3 separate regions of the Homo sapiens genome follow, and regions 2 and 3 are each linked to region 1. Evidence: promoter capture Hi-C in 16 types of primary human blood cells and fetal thymus (Javierre and others, 2016). All regions are on one chromosome and are shown on one strand. The core of a region is centred on a gene start or on the middle of the fragment in contact, and the rest is flanking DNA. Distances in the headings are between cores, read along the strand shown.

What was found. The method cuts DNA at HindIII sites, captures the fragments that hold promoters and counts their contacts. A CHiCAGO score of 5 or more calls a contact.
Region 2: a contact is called between a fragment that was not itself captured here and the fragment with the promoter of ACSL3 in region 1, in 1 of 17 cell types (monocytes). The highest score is 5.4, in monocytes.
Region 3: a contact is called between a fragment that was not itself captured here and the fragment with the promoter of ACSL3 in region 1, in 1 of 17 cell types (monocytes). The highest score is 6.8, in monocytes.

Annotation. Positions count from the first base shown.
Region 1 is chr2:222,859,415-222,863,129 of GRCh38, forward strand. It overlaps ACSL3 (acyl-CoA synthetase long chain family member 3), which reads left to right and starts at 1,622. Exons shown (of 17, transcript NM_004457.5): 1 at 1,622-1,844. RefSeq lists an enhancer at 1,337-1,631 and silencers at 1,348-1,677, 1,748-2,117. The HindIII fragment of the contact is 2,380 bases long and covers 1,053-3,432 here.
Region 2 is chr2:222,300,444-222,304,016 of GRCh38, forward strand. CCDC140 (CCDC140 long non-coding RNA) reads left to right here. Exons shown (of 2, transcript NR_161172.1): 2 at 3,303-3,573. Among named protein-coding and RNA genes, the nearest start is that of PAX3, 3.2 kb to the left of the region's middle. The HindIII fragment of the contact is 3,927 bases long and covers 109-3,573 here.
Region 3 is chr2:223,832,851-223,836,373 of GRCh38, forward strand. All of the region lies in intron 1 of AP1S3 (adaptor related protein complex 1 subunit sigma 3), which reads right to left. Among named protein-coding and RNA genes, the nearest start is that of AP1S3, 3.0 kb to the right of the region's middle. The HindIII fragment of the contact is 4,436 bases long and covers 1-3,523 here.

The sequences.
Region 1 (3,715 bases), core at 372-2,871:
TATTTACTGGGAAACCAAACAATTCATGTGACTCACTTAATTTTGATATTCCCTTTAAGTGTCAGTGGTCTGGAACCAAACCCACAATGTCTCTGAAGTATCTCTATGTATTTCTACTTAGCTTGTTAAACAGCAAACAAGATGAGAATTTAGAATTTTAATTCCCAGGACCATTTTCTTTTAAATATAGGTCCATATCCATAATATATATTCCATAATATAAAGATAATGAAGAAAGATATTGTTGGAATTCTTCTAGTCTGTTTTAGGCTTATGGATAGATAAAAAGGTGCAATATTAGTTTTCTTCTCTCGGAAAAAAACCAGTATTTTCCAGAGGATTTCATGGTTCTAGAAGTACTACTTCTAAAGCCTGCTTCTCTCTGCAGAGCTGCGAATGTCTTTTCAGATAAGAAATTCTGCATTCCATTTATCTTCAGGATGTATCCTTTGATAAGATTTCAACAGATTAATGAGCAACTGAACTGCCATATTTTGAAGTGGGAGAACAGTTTGCCTGAGTCAGGTATCCATCCCTTTAGGTTCTCGATTGGCCCTTGGCCCACGGTGAGTGAGCTCTCTTTGCTTGGTGCATCATCGCTCCACCTAGTTCAAGTTCTGGCGGCTTCCTGATTTTGATTCTCTTGGGAAATGAGGCCTGCTTTAGCCTGAGGCTGGCTCAGGAAGGCAACCTTTCACCTACTTAAGGAAAAGTTCACAGGCAAACTAAACAATATGTTGGGTTAAAAAAAGAGACCAATCCTACTAGTACTGGGTGAGTGAAAATCTTCTCTCTTACAGTACATGTAGTTCTACTACCTGCACTGGATGCTTTCTTTCTTATCCTTGTTTAGTGTCTAAAACGAGAAACAATGGCAAACTCCTTAAAATACAGAACCACTGTGGATTCCTAAGAACGTTCAAAAACAATAATTTGGAGTAAACTTTATTTTTTGAAAAGAAATAGCAAATTTGCATGGTGAGTGCATTTAGAGGAAAACGGGTTATATGCTAGGTCAAGTGAGGCCAAAACAAGAGAAATGATAATGGATAAGCTTTGAGTTTTTGAGGCTCTTCTTGCCCCAGGCAGTTCCAAAAGCCATTTTATTTGGCAGGATTTGACAGCAATTTCTGCAAGAACGGGATAACTAATCCAGTTAAAAACGAAAAAGAATATGCATACTATTTCATAATTTATATTGAAATTTATACATTACAGCAATAATTGTGCGACTGTAATTTTTTTTTTTTTTTTTTTGGTGGAGGGGTGTTTTTTCCTGGAGGGACGGAGCTCCTGCAGACCCTATTGGGCTAGCCGCTCCTCCCACGTCGCTGCCGCAGATCCCCGCTCCCCTCCCCCACCCGCGGTCCGTCCCTCCTGGTCGACCCCGTTCCCGCCCCCGCCCCGCGCAGACTGCAGCCAGGTCCGGTCCGCGGCGGCTCCGCGGAATGACCCGTAGTAACCTCGCCCCGCCCCGGGCCGCCAGCGCCGCGCTCCCCGGCCCGAATTCGATAGGCCCAGCCCCGCACGCGCCACCGCTCGCGGGCCAATGGGTGGCAGCCTCTCTGCATAGGCAACGAGTGCCGGCCGGGGGTGAGCGTCCCAGGCGGTTCCGCTCAACAGACGCTGCTGTGGCTGCGCCGGGCTGCGACACTGCAGTTGTCTACGCGGCCGGGGCCGGGACGAGGAGGCGTTGGACGGGGTCGCATACGTTCGTCCCCTCGCATTGCGGCCCCGACAGCTGCGCCAGGATCCCCGGGCGGCGGCGCGGGGCGTGAACGCTCTGGGGCTCAGCCAGGCCTGCGCGGGCCCGAGGCCGGAGGAACCCGGACTCCGGCGTAGCGGTGAGTGCGGCGCCGGTTGTGGGAGCGGCGGGAGCCGGTTGGCGGCGCGGCCTCCGCGTGCGGTTCGGCTGGGCCCGAGGGGCTCCCCAGCCTCGGGGCCTGGGACCCTGTCGTCGGCGCCGCACCTGACCGCTGGGTGTGCGCGCGGGCGGCCCGCGGCACCAGGAGCAGCGGCGAGCAGGGTGGGAGGCGGCCCGCTGGGGTCCGGGAAGCGGCTGACGTGGGGCCTCGGCCCTGAGCCCACGCGAGCCGGGAGCTGCAGCGCGAACGGCGTGGGGCGGCGCTGACCAGGCAGGGAGGATGCACTGCGTGCCTCCCGGCGCTGTGGGGCGGGGTGGGGAGGCCACCCCCTTGAATTAAGAGGGCTCTGCCGCGGCCCCAGCAGTGCGGTGTCCGTGGAAGGAGACTCAGCCCTGCGATTTCGGAAAACCCTTGTTTGGCGGGGCGGGAGGGGCTGTTGCTGCGTGGGGTGAGAAGAAACTAGGTGCGTGAGGTGGGTCGACCTTGGTGATTGGTTCTGGGCACTATCGTGGTGGTGGGACTGGGATTAAGACTGTCGTTTGGGGTTTGAGAGTTGCAGCTTTGCTTTTCCCCAAGTGCGTTTTAATCATATACTGTTGATAGGTTGGGTAACTCGGGGACTGCTTACTACCAGCAGTCCTGTGGGGTAGGTGTTATCAGGCTCGTTTCACAGATGAGGAGCCCGAGGCACAGGTTTTCAAATGGTTTTCGCAGGAAGTCTGATACTAGAAAGTGTGCTCTAAGCTGCTGTATAAAAGATCCCTCGAAAATGAAAAGGCTGGAGGAATGTCTTTAAAATTATATGGAAGCTAGAAAGGCAGTAGGCTTTGTGAACGAAATTATAGCTGAAAAGAATGACAAATAGCTGACATTTATTGAGCTTTTATTACATGCCACGCACTGTTTGGAGAGCTTTATGTACAGTGTCTTCACACTGTTAACAGTCCTCTGGGGTGGGGGTTATTCCCATTTTACAGCGGGAGAAACTGCAGATTGGACGACTTAGCTTGCCTCAGATCTCAGCTAGTAAGAAGCTGGGATTCAGACAGGCCTGTGTAAATCCAGAGCTCTGAAATCTAAGCACTATATTTTGCTGCCTCTCCTTGGTGGCTGGCTGAATAGTTTCCACAGTGGATTTTAGTCTGGGTGGCCAGGAGAGTTGTAGTTTGATGATACCTTCTTTCATGTTTATCAACCTATTTTGTTTCCCCAAATTAGTTCTGAGAGTTAAGGGTGCTGATGAGTTGCTCCTGAAAGTGTATTAGAAGGGTATTATAGGGGACAGGTGGTGTGACATGGGAATCTTTTGCACAGACTTGATTTTGTTTTCTGGCATTTTTCTGGGCAGTTCCTCACACTTGGGGATGAGTAAGCCTTCTAATTGTCGCATGCGTTTTCTCTCTAGACTTTTCCTGGTTTCTCTTTTGTATAAAAATATTGGTTTTGTAGGATGACATTGGGTGTGGGGCAGAGTGGTCCATTGGACCTAAGGGTCAAGGTGACAAGTCACCTCGTATCTTTGGATCTCAGTTACTGAATTTGTAAGGCTTTAGACTCAGTGACTTAAAGCTTAAATATTCTGAGGGTCTAAAATGTTCTCCTTGAAGGAAGAAAGGAAGAATGGGAGAAATGAAGAACGCACAAATTATAAGGGGAAAATCATCCTCTGTCTGGTTTGGGGTGAGAATCAGATCTTAAAGCCTCGAGGTCTGTTTCATTTGCTTTTGTGTTTCCCTGCTGTTTGGTTCCAGTTAAGTGACTGTTTCATTCCTCATTTGATTAATTGACTCACCTAGAGCCATTTAATTTTTGTGATATGTCAGGCACCTTATTAGGTGCTGGGAATACAG
Region 2 (3,573 bases), core at 822-3,321, 560 kb before region 1:
ATTAAGGCAAACTCAGAAGGCAAGATGTAGGGGGGTGTGGGGTATAGCCGCTCAGCAGTCCACAAGTTGGCCCTTTAAAAACCCACTCACCATTGGGGAAACCAGGCAAGCTTTCAGCCTGCCTGATGCCAGAAGGCTTGGTTGACCCTCAGAGCCACGGAGACAGGTCTCAGGAGACTCCCAGAAATGTCTGGACCCATGAAGGAGGCATGTGCCTTGTTTAACCTGGTTTTACATTAAATGATTCAATTTTTCAAGGGGAAAATTTTCTCATTTTCTTTTTAAGGCGTTGGGGCCACCAAAGCCTGTGTCCGTACGTTTTAAGCCACTTCTCAGCGATAGCATTTTGAGAGCTAGACTTTTTCCAAGTTTTCTTCTTCCCAAAGGTTAAGCAGAGTCGACAGAGCACTTTCTGGGGTCAGCGGTAATTGCTGTGTGAAGGAGGTACCAGAAGTGTAATTTCAAGAAGGCAAAAGTAGGCTCAACTCTCAGCTAAAATAAACTCTTGGACCCCGCGAGCAGTTAAAGAACATCTAGAGCTGAGTCTCATTTGTTTTTGAGCCGGAGGCTTGGTCTCCAAGCCCTCCCAGCGTCCACCCGTCTCTCTCCTGCCGGGAGTTTTCTCTCCTAAGAGCCGGCAGATGCTGGAGGGAAGCGCTTGCTGCAAGATTCCTTCTCCCGGTCCCGTAGATTGCAGAGTCCGCGGGACCGTTGAACGGAGGTACTGCCGGCTGAGCTGGGTCTTAAGTGCCCATGGGTTCATAAACTAGCTGTCACTTGCTATAAACATGTACAAATGGAGGCCACAAGGATGTGGGGGTGCTGGGGACCTAAAGCTCCGGAATCAGGAGGCGACTCATTTTCTCTCCTTTCCGGCCTCTTTCTTTTCTGCCGAGCGCTCTGAGATTCATATGTACCCAGATGATCAGCCCGGCCCTTCTCACCGGCCAGTGGCCAGAGGTCCCTGGACACCCGGAGAGGGGTGGGAGGGCACCCTTAGGCTCTGGACAGCTGGGCCACATCCAAAGACTTAATGAATCTAAATTTCTTGTGGCCTGTGTCCCCGAAGTCCGACCTGGGATGGCCAGGACAGCAAAGTTGGCTGAGGCTGCCTGGCCTAGGGCGCCCGCACGCCGCCAAACCTAACCCGGCTCAGAGCCGTGACTCCGCAGAACAGGGCGCAACAGGTCTCAGGAATGCCGGGTGATTCCAGCCACTCTTTCTCTGTCTCCGAGTCTTGGGCCTCCCCTTTATTTCTTTCTGAAGTCTCTCCGGAGCCCAAGCCACCCCACACCCAAACCCCGCAGCTGGATGGGAGTCCAGGCCACTTCCCTATCCGCAGCCGGTGGGCCAAGGAGTCCTGGTGCCAAATTTGGCCGCGGTACAGGCGCTAATTGGTAAAGGGATGACCCAGCGGTGGGGCTTGGAAGGCGAGGGCCCGCGCCCTGCATCCTTGAACCCTGGTTTGGGAGGCAGTGACTTTTACCTGGGCTAACAAATTACCCAGAAAGCATCAGTGGGACTCTCCACAACGGTGTTGTGAACGAGTGTAGGGTCCACTCACGCTCTGTGCACGTTCGAAATGAAACGGGAGCCTTGAAGACGATATTTGGATAATTTGACAAAAAAAAAAAAAAGGTGGGCGGGGGAGATAGCTTCTATTGTCCCCTCTGCGCCTCTGCCCCCAGTTTCAGAGACACTACAGGTGAAAATAACAGCGGGCTGGCTGTCCAGGCCTGAGTGGAGCGTGCCCTTGTTAGCTTGAAAGTTCTCCCTCGCAGCCCGTTTGGATGCGTGCGTCTACAGCCCAGTCGCACTTTGGTGACCGGCCTGGGCTGTGAAGCACCCTTTAGCGAACAGCCTCCGCACTTGGGGACACTGGCACAAGGGTTTCATGGCCCGTGGACTTCTCAGGGCCTCTGAGGGTTGACTTCATACTCAGCCAGACACAGGTCTTAAGAGGAAATTATGATCTATGCAAAATAATGTCCCTGACCTAGTGGGGAGCGGGGGTGGTGTCTGCCACCCAGACCTTTTTCCTCCCGTCTGAAGGGCCGAGCTCTGGCAGGCTGACACGGTCGAGCAGAGAAGTTCCTGGCCACCCGCCCGGCCCCAGGCGTGATTCTCAGGATGCAGTAAAAGTTGGGCAAACGCCGAGAAACCCTCAATCCCACAGAAAGGCTGCCGGGGGCTCACGGGGAGGACATCAAAACGCCAGGTTCGTGATCATGAGCTTCCGGTCCGGATGTGATGATACAGGATTGGTGAATGCCCGGGTTAAACCCGTGGTCCTTCGCAGCCGCTGCCTCAGTGACAGTCATTAGGCCCCCCGCAGTTATTTGTCAAAAGCATTGGCGCCGCTCTTCTCCCCATCGAAAAATCAGTCGGGATGAGTTCGGATTAAGGGACTAGATGAGGATGTGGACATCCCATTGAAACATGGTGTAGGCCAGCCGAAGTGGGTTTGCTCCTTCAGCTGGGGGAGCCCCAGGGAACGTGTGAGCGGGTTTACAATAAGGAACATATGGTTTGTGGGAAGATAGGAAGAGAGAAGGAAAATAGGAAAGGAAAAAGAAAAGAGGAAAAGAAGAGAGAGGTACTTTTTTTTTTAAAGGCAGTGAGGGAGGGAGAGAAGAATAAATCTCACAGCAGCTGGTGTCCTAGTTCATTTGGGTCTGAGAAAATTATTTTTAGGCAAACAAGGAAGACAGGATTCCGCCGCCCGATTCTCCAGGGCGGGAAGAATAGGATGTCTTGTAAAAAATAAGTAAGTCCTGTCTAATCTTCCAAAAAATGTTCTGCTCAATTAGGTAAAAGTTCATGGTGGGGTGGGGGTGATGTTTAGAAGACAGATTCTTCGGTAACTGCTCTTTGGTGTGTGTATTCGGGGTGTGTGTATTCGGGGTGTGTGTATTCGGGGTGTGTGTATGTGTGTGTGTGAAAGAATCTGGTGTGTGTGAAAGGGGTAAGGGTTGAAGGACCTTATTTAGCTGGGGGACCGTCTTGTATTGGGAGCGGGCAGCCTAGGCCTTGGAAAGACCAGAAAATCTGATCTGTGCGGAGGCAGGTGAAGGCTGTGAGTGAGGTGGGGGCGGGAACAGAGCTGGAGGAAGTGAATAAAAGAAACCTTGGGGTCCGTTGGTTTCCTTGACTCGTGGAGCAAAAAAGTAGGCGAGTGACCACTCCAGGAACTCCTGCCTCCGGGCGCCGGTACATAAAGAGCTGGGGCTGTGTGTCCTGCTCTTGGGGGAGGAGGGTACTGGGAAGGGGGAACTAACAGGTCTTTCTTTCGCTCGGATCAGGACTGGACTCCTTCTGACTCCACGCGGCCCCAGCTCCTGAACCAGCGCAGTGAGCCTCAGCCGCTTCTCAAACTGGGTCTCAGAAAATTTCTCCTCGAGATGGATTTCAGCGGCAGGAAAGAGGGGCCAGTGACGCGAGGAGCAAGAAAAGAGTAACATGGGAGATGAATGTTCAAACCCAGATCTCCTCGCTGAGCCTGGAAGCTCGCCACCGTGGGATCACGGGAACCAGAGGCAAGAGGCTGCGAATGAGTCCAACACCCGCGTTCCT
Region 3 (3,523 bases), core at 789-3,288, 970 kb after region 1:
TCAAACTTAAATATCTTCTGAATAAGAAATGGCTTTCCAGTTCTGTTTGGTAAATTCTCTCAAGTCAGATTTTAAATCGTACACCCAAAAAAAATCCTTGATTTTTTTTTAGCATAAATCTATCCTACTTTACATAAATAACATACATTATGAGAACGGAATTTGCAACACAAAAAGACGGTTATTCATGTTTCCAAAGGGATCAACATTTGAGTTTCTTTCAATGGGTGGCTCTACTGTTTTGTTCACAATGTGGTTTTGTGTCACCTCAACTTTTCAGAAGCACATGGACTACATACATCAAAGTCCACTTGTGCTTTTATTAAAAGTACCCCCAAAGCATTTCAAATGTCACTGTATACATCCCCACAGCTATCTTGTTAAAGGCAAAATACATACATACATACATACATACATACATACATACATACATAAACAACATAATCCTCCTTCATTGCCAACCATTCAACAGTACATTCTGCCCCATAAGCCTTTTTAAACACACTGGGCTCAGCTCGTGGGATTCCTGAAGTGCAATAGCCCTAACACTGTTTTCCAAGGTAGAGATTTCTAAAAGGTGAGATGGAGTACACAGTTGCTTCAAACAGTGTGATCCAGATACAAACACAGTCCCAACATGCACCAGATATGAAATCTCTGTGCCAGAAACCAGGGTCACTGGCACCATGGAATCAAGAACCATTTTCTGTGTGTAAAGTACTAGGTGCCTAGATCTGCCAGTAAGCATCTACCAGTTTCCTAGCATAAAAGTCAGCAAAAGTCAGGAATGAAGCAGCAGGAAAGACAGGGAGTTACACAGTGAGCCTCAACAAAGGTCTCAGAGCAGCTGGGCACTAGCGAGGGCCGCCAATTCTTTCTTACAACTTGAAGGTAATAACAGAGGAGAGGTGATGGTTACTGAGCATTTACAATGGCAAAGCTGTTTGAAGCGCCTTCACACGCATTCACTTATGGTACCTGTTAAACTCCGGGACAGTGATTATGAAACTTTTTGGATGCCTTTACACTCTTTTTATTTATTTATTTATTTATTTATTTATTTATTTATTTATTTGAGATGGAGTTTTGTTCTTGTTGCCCAGGCTGGAGTGCAATGGCACGATCTTGGCTCACCACAACCTCCACCTCACGGGTTCAAGCGATTCTCCTGCCTCAGCCTCCCAAGTAGCTGGGATTATAGGCATGCGCCACCACACCCAGCTAATTTTGTATTTTTAGTAGAGACAGTGTTTCTCCATGTTGATCAGGCTGGTCTCAAATTCCTGACTTCAGGTGATCCGCCTGCCAATCCCAAAGACCTTTTTGTTTATGTGGGTTATATCCACTGATATTTATTGTATTTGAAATTAAAATGAAAAAATAGATATTAACATATTTTAAAATAATACGACTTGGGCAACATAGGTAGGCTTCATTTCTACAAAAAGTAAAAAATTCCACTGGGCCCAATTGTTCATGCCTATAATCTCAGCACTTTGGGAGGACAAGGTGGGAATATTACATGAGTTCAGGAGTTCAAGACCAGCCTAGGCAACAAAGTAAGACCTCATTTATACAAAAATCAAAAAATTACCTGGGCATGATGGCACACACCTGTGGTCCCAGCTACATGGAAGGCTGAGGTAGGAGGATGCCTTGAGTCCACTGGGTTGAGGCTGCAGTAAGCCATGTTCATGCTACTGCACTCTACTCTGGGTGATAGAACAAGCCTTGTCTCAAAATAAATAAATAAATAAATAGCTGGGCATGGTGGGACATGCCTACAGTCCCAGCTACTCAAGAAGCTGAGGTAGGAGGGTTGCTGGAGCCTAGGAGGTTGAGGCTGCTGTGAGCTGTGATCACACCACTGCACTCAGCTTGGGCGACACAGAGACCCTGTCTCAAAAATAAATAAATAAAAAGAAAAAACAATAGTAAACCTATTACACATTAAACATAAATAACATTTTTATGACCAATAACAATATTTTTCCAAAGCAAAAAAAAAATTAGTGAAAAGCATGGCACTGTTTTACAATTTTGCAAATCTCCTTAATGTCTGGGCTTATCAAAGACAGTTGGACTTTCCTATCTGCATCTGTGTTCAATCTGTTGTACTATCTCAGCTTATGTAGACACAAGAAAACTTCACTGTAGTCTTGTGAGAATGAGAATGAAATGGGAAAATTAATATCTTAGTATTATTATGAAAATAGTTTTGACCTTGCAGACCTCCAGTAAAAGTCTTGGGGACTGCTGGGGGTACCCAGGTCACACTTTCAGAACCTCTGCCTTATGAGTTAGGAGATATTATCTCCATTTTTCAAATGGGCAAACTGAGACAGAGAGGTCAAGGAATTGTCCAAGGCCATACTGCTAGAATAGCTCAGAGTAGCTAAAATGCAATGAGCATAACAGATTTAACCTCAATTGTTTGTTGCAAGGATTGAATGAGATCGTGAATATAAAGAGCAGGACATCCTGCTTGTCTTATCACAAATGCCCAATAACATTAATGTTTCCCCGCCAGGTGCGGTGGCTCATGCCTGTAATGCCAGCACTTTGGGAGGCCGATGCAGGTGGATCACGAGGTCAGGAGTTTGAGACCAGCCTGGCCAACATGGCAAAACCCCGTCTCTACTAAAAATACAAAAATTAGCTAGGCGTGGTGGCGGGCGCCTGTAATCCCAGCTACTTAGGAGGCTGAGGCAGGAGAATTGCTTGAACTCGGGAGATGGAGGTTGCAGTGAGCCAAGATCATGCCACTGCACTTCAGCCTGGGTGACAGAGCAAGATTCCGTCTCGAAGAAAAAAAAATAATAATAATGTTTCCCATTTAGCAAAAACTGGTAGAAAAGCTGGAGAAACTTCCCACATTTCTGATCAACTCATCACACATATGACACCAGCAAGAAAAAATAAAACTCCACCACAGGTATTGTCCAGAGGAGCAGCTTTTCCTTATAGACCAAACCTTGGCCCATTCCTCAGCACAAAAGCAGCCTTTGATGACTCAGAAACGCAGGGCCTTATTCCAGCCTCTGTTAGGCAAATTACACTGGTGGACTGGGCATCTGTCACCTTGTTCCTTGGGAAACTTGAGCAAGCCAAGAAACCTGCTCCATTATTTACAGCATTGTTTTTGCATCACGCTGTATTTACAAGGAACCCTCAACAGACAAAAATGATGCCGCTAGTGTGTGCAGCCAAACCTTTAACAGAAACCAGCAACTGCGGTCTTGCTGGCCAGGTGCTCAGCACTCCCCGGCTCTCTTTGTTGATCAACTTTCTTAGCCCACGTGGCCCACCCACTCCTGCCTCCGGTGGGCCCACAGGGTGCAGGTCACTTCCCTTCTGCGGATTTGGGAAGTGGTAACACACTTGGGGAAGTGGGACTAGTGACGTTCAGACCACCACACTCTTAAAAGGCTGCCCCTAAACAGCAGGCAAGAGCAAGAGGAGCCTGAGCTATCGCTTCCACCCAAGTGCAGGTCACCAGATCTCTCATCAGCAGGGCTGCGGC